Regions from separate parts of the Homo sapiens genome. Here region 2 is linked to region 1. The links are contacts of gene promoters, found by promoter capture Hi-C in blood cells and fetal thymus (Javierre and others, 2016). All regions are on one chromosome and are shown on one strand. The core of a region is centred on a gene start or on the middle of the fragment in contact, and the rest is flanking DNA. Distances in the headings are between cores, read along the strand shown. Region 1 holds the start of IL2 (interleukin 2). Region 2 overlaps IL21-AS1 (IL21 antisense RNA 1).

The links. The method cuts DNA at HindIII sites, captures the fragments that hold promoters and counts their contacts. A CHiCAGO score of 5 or more calls a contact.
Region 2: a fragment that was not itself captured here is called in contact with the fragment with the promoter of IL2 in region 1 in 1 of 17 cell types (activated CD4 T cells); the score reaches 5.1 in activated CD4 T cells.

What each region holds. Positions count from the first base shown.
Region 1 is chr4:122,454,340-122,458,631 of GRCh38, reverse strand. IL2 (interleukin 2) reads left to right here and starts at 1,907. Exons shown (of 4, transcript NM_000586.4): 1 at 1,907-2,338; 2 at 2,429-2,488. The coding sequence starts at 2,192. The HindIII fragment of the contact is 2,130 bases long and covers 1,132-3,261 here.
Region 2 is chr4:122,659,366-122,663,657 of GRCh38, reverse strand. All of the region lies in intron 10 of IL21-AS1 (IL21 antisense RNA 1), which reads right to left. Among named protein-coding and RNA genes, the nearest start is that of IL21, 40 kb to the right of the region's middle. The HindIII fragment of the contact is 1,022 bases long and covers 1,765-2,786 here.

The sequences.
Region 1 (4,292 bases), core at 658-3,157:
ATGGTGCCTACTGTGCATTAACAGAGATAAACTAGGGGTCTAAGAACTCAGTTTTCTACAGGGTCCCAGAAGTATAGCCATATATTGCCCCATTCTCTAATGGAAATAGCCAGAGAAATAGAAATATCAAGACTGGAGAACATCAAATACCTCATTGGAAAAGCCCCCACATAGGAAAATGTGTGGGCTTGAATTCTTCCATTCTGGAAGGGTAAAGGCCTGAGTGATGATGCTGGGATTAGACACTGAAACTCTTTAGAGAAGCAAAACAAGTATAATAAAGCTGTACTTTATTATATTAAATAAATAACACACAGACTACCAAATAGCCTGCCCCTTATAACAGCGTTAATGTGATTTTGATCTGAAATGTATAGAGACATTTTGCATTTTTTCGTATAAAAAGTTCATGAGATTTGGCCCTAATCTGACCTTTTCTTCATTTTTTTTTCTACTTGAGGGACTATAATCTTTATTTTTAAATTTGTTTTATATTCTCCGAACATTACCTAACGCATAGAAAACTCTTATTGAACCATTTTTCTCTGTTCTTTGTAAAATATTACATTTGACTGTTCCTTAGACTGCTTTAATCATTCCTGCCTATGCACCCTCCTCAAAATCCAGTTTAAATTAATTGTTCCTTATTCAAGATTCCTTATATCCACCTCCCTTGGGGCAGCAATCACCTATCACCCAGGACTACACTTGTGTATGTACATATCTTCCCTATTACAAATCAGGTTCTTTGAAAAAATACAAATGGTAAGAGAGTGGATTTTTGGAGTCAGAACATTCTCTTTTCAAATCCTTCTTCTGCCCCTTACTGGCAATAAGGGCTGAGTGACCTAGAGCAAATTACTTAACTTCTCTGAGCCTCAGTTTTCTAATCTGCAAAATAGGAGCCATCACTTCACAAGTCTGTAAGACTTATATTAGACTAAGTGCCTGCCTGTACACTGTTCTCTTTTCTCTCTTTCTATATACCTGAAGGCATTATAGGTGCTAGATGTCTGTTTAAAGACCAGACAATATTGTCTTAAAAAAACAAACAAAAACACAGACAATACCATCTTTAAAAAAAAAAAAAAAGTCCAGGTAAGAAATAAATAAGGCCATAGAATGGAAGCTTTACAAGGACTCTCTCTGAGACAGGATCTCCTCAAGTGTCCCCAGGTTAAATTAGAAGTATATATCCGTACAATTGTTCAGCCAGTTTGTGCACTGTACTGAGGATGAATGAACACCTATCCTAAATATCCTAGTCTTCTGACTAAAAACAAGATCATATTTCATAACGATTATTGTTACATTCATAGTGTCCCAGGTGATTTAGAGGATAAATAAAAATCCATTAAAGAGGTAAAGACATAAAAACGAGAAACATGGACTGGTTTACACATAACACATACAAAGTCTATTATAAAACTAGCATCAGTATCCTTGAATGCAAACCTTTTTCTGAGTATTTAACAATCGCACCCTTTAAAAAATGTACAATAGACATTAAGAGACTTAAACAGATATATAATCATTTTAAATTAAAATAGCGTTAAACAGTACCTCAAGCTCAATAAGCATTTTAAGTATTCTAATCTTAGTATTTCTCTAGCTGACATGTAAGAAGCAATCTATCTTATTGTATGCAATTAGCTCATTGTGTGGATAAAAAGGTAAAACCATTCTGAAACAGGAAACCAATACACTTCCTGTTTTATCAACAAATCTAAACATTTATTCTTTTCATCTGTTTACTCTTGCTCTTGTCCACCACAATATGCTATTCACATGTTCAGTGTAGTTTTATGACAAAGAAAATTTTCTGAGTTACTTTTGTATCCCCACCCCCTTAAAGAAAGGAGGAAAAACTGTTTCATACAGAAGGCGTTAATTGCATGAATTAGAGCTATCACCTAAGTGTGGGCTAATGTAACAAAGAGGGATTTCACCTACATCCATTCAGTCAGTCTTTGGGGGTTTAAAGAAATTCCAAAGAGTCATCAGAAGAGGAAAAATGAAGGTAATGTTTTTTCAGACAGGTAAAGTCTTTGAAAATATGTGTAATATGTAAAACATTTTGACACCCCCATAATATTTTTCCAGAATTAACAGTATAAATTGCATCTCTTGTTCAAGAGTTCCCTATCACTCTCTTTAATCACTACTCACAGTAACCTCAACTCCTGCCACAATGTACAGGATGCAACTCCTGTCTTGCATTGCACTAAGTCTTGCACTTGTCACAAACAGTGCACCTACTTCAAGTTCTACAAAGAAAACACAGCTACAACTGGAGCATTTACTGCTGGATTTACAGATGATTTTGAATGGAATTAATGTAAGTATATTTCCTTTCTTACTAAAATTATTACATTTAGTAATCTAGCTGGAGATCATTTCTTAATAACAATGCATTATACTTTCTTAGAATTACAAGAATCCCAAACTCACCAGGATGCTCACATTTAAGTTTTACATGCCCAAGAAGGTAAGTACAATATTTTATGTTCAATTTCTGTTTTAATAAAATTCAAAGTAATATGAAAATTTGCACAGATGGGACTAATAGCAGCTCATCTGAGGTAAAGAGTAACTTTAATTTGTTTTTTTGAAAACCCAAGTTTGATAATGAAGCCTCTATTAAAACAGTTTTACCTATATTTTTAATATATATTTGTGTGTTGGTGGGGGTGGGAAGAAAACATAAAAATAATATTCTCACTTTATCGATAAGACAATTCTAAACAAAAATGTTCATTTATGGTTTCATTTAAAAATGTAAAACTCTAAAATATTTGATTATGTCATTTTAGTATGTAAAATACCAAAATCTATTTCCAAGGAGCCCACTTTTAAAAATCTTTTCTTGTTTTAGGAAAGGTTTCTAAGTGAGAGGCAGCATAACACTAATAGCACAGAGTCTGGGGCCAGATATCTGAAGTGAAATCTCAGCTCTGCCATGTCCTAGCTTTCATGATCTTTGGCAAATTACCTACTCTGTTTGTGATTCAGTTTCATGTCTACTTAAATGAATAACTGTATATACTTAATATGGCTTTGTGAGAATTAGTAAGTAAATGTAAAGCACTCAGAACCGTGTCTGGCATAAGGTAAATACCATACAAGCATTAGCTATTATTAGTAGTATTAAAGATAAAATTTTCACTGAGAAATACAAAGTAAAATTTTGGACTTTATCTTTTTACCAATAGAACTTGAGATTTATAATGCTATATGACTTATTTTCCAAGATTAAAAGCTTCATTAGGTTGTTTTTGGATTCAGATAGAGCATAAGCATAATCATCCAAGCTCCTAGGCTACATTAGGTGTGTAAAGCTACCTAGTAGCTGTGCCAGTTAAGAGAGAATGAACAAAATCTGGTGCCAGAAAGAGCTTGTGCCAGGGTGAATCCAAGCCCAGAAAATAATAGGATTTAAGGGGACACAGATGCAATCCCATTGACTCAAATTCTATTAATTCAAGAGAAATCTGCTTCTAACTACCCTTCTGAAAGATGTAAAGGAGACAGCTTACAGATGTTACTCTAGTTTAATCAGAGCCACATAATGCAACTCCAGCAACATAAAGATACTAGATGCTGTTTTCTGAAGAAAATTTCTCCACATTGTTCATGCCAAAAACTTAAACCCGAATTTGTAGAATTTGTAGTGGTGAATTGAAAGCGCAATAGATGGACATATCAGGGGATTGGTATTGTCTTGACCTACCTTTCCCACTAAAGAGTGTTAGAAAGATGAGATTATGTGCATAATTTAGGGGGTGGTAGAATTCATGGAAATCTAAGTTTGAAACCAAAAGTAATGATAAACTCTATTCATTTGTTCATTTAACCCTCATTGCACATTTACAAAAGATTTTAGAAACTAATAAAAATATTTGATTCCAAGGATGCTATGTTAATGCTATAATGAGAAAGAAATGAAATCTAATTCTGGCTCTACCTACTTATGTGGTCAAATTCTGAGATTTAGTGTGCTTATTTATAAAGTGGAGATGATACTTCACTGCCTACTTCAAAAGATGACTGTGAGAAGTAAATGGGCCTATTTTGGAGAAAATTCTTTTAAATTGTAATATACCATAGAAATATGAAATATTATATATAATATAGAATCAAGAGGCCTGTCCAAAAGTCCTCCCAAAGTATTATAATTTTTTATTTCACTGGGACAAACATTTTTAAAATGCATCTTAATGTAGTGATTGTAGAAAAGTAAAAATTTAAGACATATTTAAAAATGTGTCTTGCTCAAGGCTATATTGAGAGCC
Region 2 (4,292 bases), core at 1,026-3,525, 200 kb before region 1:
CAAAATCAAGTGAACTCCCTTCCATCTTAGTGACAACTGGGCAGAGTCCAAACTCCTTAGCACAATACACAATGCCATTTACAACCTGACCCTGTCTAGCCTTTTTAGATTTGTCTCTGTCACTTTGTCTCCATTCTGTATTTCAGCCAAACTCAACTATATTCCCTTTCTCCTGAATCTCTCATGCATTTTCAAGCCTCTCTGCATTTGCCTGCGCTGCTCTGTCTGTTCAAAATTCCTGCCTGGCAAACTCCTACCCATTCTTCAATGTCCCTTCTTCTTTCCTTTGCATAGTCACTGTCACAGTTCTCTGTGCATGTTTTTGCTATAATAGTCAATGGACTGAATTGCATTTAAAAAAAAATTTCCATGTCCTTATCCACTATTAACAGTGAATATCTCAATGACTAGGACTATATCATATTCATCTCATCTCCCCAGGACATGACAGGACTTATTGAGGAGAGACTCAATAAGTGTTGGTTCAATTAATAAATTAAACAAGAGGATTCCAGAGAGTCAATAAAGGGGAGTGAAAAAGTAGAGTGGGAGGTGGCTCAGCCTTTAAACAAAGAGACAATGAATTCACCATATTTGTATGAAATTCCCTAGCATGATACTTCGTTGTCCCAGCAGAGGTCTTCACTCATCAGCTAAGAATAGGGGGAAGGTCTGGCAGCTCAGGCATCACACAGGAGAGAAGCGTTCCTCCACAAGGAGACTCATGTTACAGTAGCACTTCTGGAGGCTTCCTACCCTCCCCTCTCCTACCTTAGCCTGTGGTAGTGTCCTCTTACTTCCTTCCAAAAATAGTCTAGGGAAGAGGACCAGGACCTAGATGATTTCATCAAGTTGGGTTCTGGGCACACTCCAACAAGCTAGGTTACAGACCTACATGTAGGAATTTATAGTTTGCAAAGCACTGTCACATAGGCACATATATCACCTCATTTAATCTTATTTCGGGCTAACTTAGGTCATCAGATGTAGAAGAAATCTTAACTTAAATAGTCTAAGGTAAGCCACCCTGATAAACCCAGCCTAATTGCATGTTAAAACTCACTTTGGAGTGTGAAGATAGATGATGGTATCCTTGTTATAACCAAATATTAATAAAATGTTTTGTTGTTTTAAAAGTAATAGACAGTGTAAAAAATTAAACTATGTAAAAGGCTACAAAATAATATACAAATGTAATCTTCCTATTCTAACCTCAAGAACCCCATTCTTACCCTGCTAAGGTAACCACCATGAAAACTTTCTTCTATATCCTTCTAGAAATGTTTTCAGTGTATATGTGTGCATACATATACATACATATGGGTTACATAAAAATATTACAAGTATTTATAAGTGTAAATGTATGTGCCTTATGTAAATATACATTTATGTATAAATTATGATCATTAACATATAAAACATGTAACAAAATCATACCTATATATGTGTGTATATATACATATATATACAATAATTCTATATAAAATCCTATCTATGTGGTGTGTGTGTATGTGCAACCATGAACCTAGCACTGTACTGGATATTGAGGGGAATGGTTGCTGGTGGAGGCTGGTGATTGTGTAAAAGGAAGAGATAGTTCTGCACAGATGGTAGCATTATTTCTGATTATATGCCAAAGTTAATATACTGGATCGGGTACCAGTTTTTTTGTGGGTAAAGCATATAGCTAGCTGTTCACACAGTGCCAACTTACTTTCTGGGCCCAGGCTGATTTGGTCAGAGAACCTTCTTCCCTAGGAAGCTTGATCTGTAGTTCCCCTTATCTAGTGACACGTAGGAGTTGCTTTGCTGTTACAGCAACAGCCTGTAACTGTTTGACTTCCAAGACTGACCTGCTGGTTCCTTTGAAAACAAACCCATTGGAGTGACCAGTGAAGTCATCTATGGTGGTAATTGACTGTTTATTGTCTCCACTTGGCCTCCCTGCCAGTGACTAGAGGGTAAACACAATGTTTCAATCATCTTTGTTGCCCCAGCACAGACTCCACACTTCAATGTGCATTTGTTGAACAGATCCAAAGCTGCAATTGGCACTTAACACAGTATCTCACCTGCAGAGTCTCCACTTTGGAGAGGTAGATGCCCTTTCTTTATGATACGTTATCAAAGGCATCCTCTCTTCTAGACACCATGTGGAAGTACATCATTGATCTTTAATGCTTCTGGTTTCCTCTTTTACCCTTAAACTGCTTTTGAACTGTCAAACTGAAGCAAGCCATTTGGTGATTTCTATGCTTGGCATCTGGGGTTATTTGGGGTGTGGATGAGGGCAATTGCTTTATATTCTGAAACACTCATGCAGAGCCTGAGTAATCTTTGCTTTTCTGGGGAAGGAATAGCTTACAGTCTCTTAGGAAGTATGCAGCGCAAAAAGAGAATAAAGCAATGACAAAACAACAACAGCAACAACAAAATGGAAAAAAGATAAAAGACTAAGAACTTAAACTCTACAAATTTATGCACACACATTCTTTAATGAATTAGTTTCTAGACTTGAAAGCAGTTCAGCTAGACCGGAATACATCAACAGTCTTAGTTCTGTCATGGAGTCTCCAGGGAGGACTGCTAACTCCAGCCTCAGCCTCCTCATCTGTGGCACGGGTTCACTGGGAAAGAGGAATTAACTCAAGACACAGTAGTTGGCATTGACTCTCTGATGAAGTTCCAAGTGGGAGAGTTAGTATACTTGTGTATATGGAGAGAGCAGAAGCTACAGGGATATGGATTTTGACTCCATTTAAGGAAGAACTCTCAAATACAAAGCTTTCCTAAGGTGGAATGGCCACTTTGTAAGGTGATATATTATTTGATACTGAAAATATTTGAAATGTCCTGGATATAAGAATGTATTAAGTGGATTCCAAGTTCCCTGACATCTTTTACAAATATGATTTTGTGTCTCGTTGATCGCTAAGGCAGCATTGTACTATATAACTTTCTGCAGTGATGGAAATGTTCCGTATCTGTGAGGTCCAAAATGGTAGTCACTGACTACCTGTGCTTATTGAGCACTTGTATGACTGAGGAACTGATTTTTTAATTTAATTTAATTCTAATTAATTTAAATAGCTACACGTGGCTAGTGGCTACCATATTAGACAGTGCTGCTCTAAAATCTCTACCAGCTCTATAGTTTGAATTTTTTAAGCTCTCATCATTATCATTTTATAATCAAATACTGTGTCCTGGACACTGCGTATAAAATTGCTCTATTTAGGATATGGTCCTGCTTTAGAAAAAAATCACCTTCTTGAGAGAAAAGTAGAACCCATGTAAAAACACTGAATTGGAATAAGGAATAAGGATACATAGCAAATAAACTACTGCCAAACTAGAAAGTGCCCATGTCCAAACACTCTATTGTAGAGCCACAATTAAAACACAGGTGTTTCTAAGAAGCATAAAGATACGAAGACCAGCTCCTGTCCTTTGCTGTCTTTGGGGTGGGAGGGAAGTAGCTTTAGGCTCGAGGCTCCCACTGATGTGTTATTGTGCTGAATGCAGGATTCTTCCCTCAGTACCTACTCAATGGTCTGCTAGTGTTTTCCTATACATTAAGAGTAATAGAGGCCGGGCACGGTGGTTCACTGCGCCAAAGCTTTGTATTTCAGAGTTCTTCCTTAAATGGAGTCAAAATCCATATCCCTGTAACTTCTGCTCTCTCTATATACACAAATGTACTAACTCTCCCATCTGGAACTTCATCAGAGAGTCAATGCCAACTACTGTGTCTTGAGTTAATCCCAGCACTCTGGGAGGCCAAGGCAGGCGGATCACGAGGTCAGGAGATTGAGACCATCCTGGCTGACGTGGTGAAACCCTGTCTCTACTAAAAATACAAAAATTAGCCAGGTGTGGTGGCGGGCGCCTGTAGTCCCAGCTACTTGGGAGGCTGAGGCAGGAGAATGGTGTGAACCCAGAAGGCAGAGCTTGCAGTGAGCCAAGATCGTGCCACTGTACTCCAGCCTGGGCAACAGAGCGAGACTCTGTCAAAAAAAAAAAAAAAAAAGAGTAATAGAGATGTAGAACAATGTGATAAAGTGACTTCAAGCTTCATGTTACTTCACCAGAAAGAAGAAGGTCTTTGAGTTGGATTTTATCATTTTAGATGAGGAAGAAGCCCTGAAATCTAATCCTCATATTTTACAGAGAAGAAAACTGACACCTGAAACCCAGAAAAGACTTGTGCGTTGTACAGTCATGTGGTTATTTAATAGTAGACTATTTCATTTGTGTAAATTAATAATGTAGTAAATAACAGTTATTCTTCT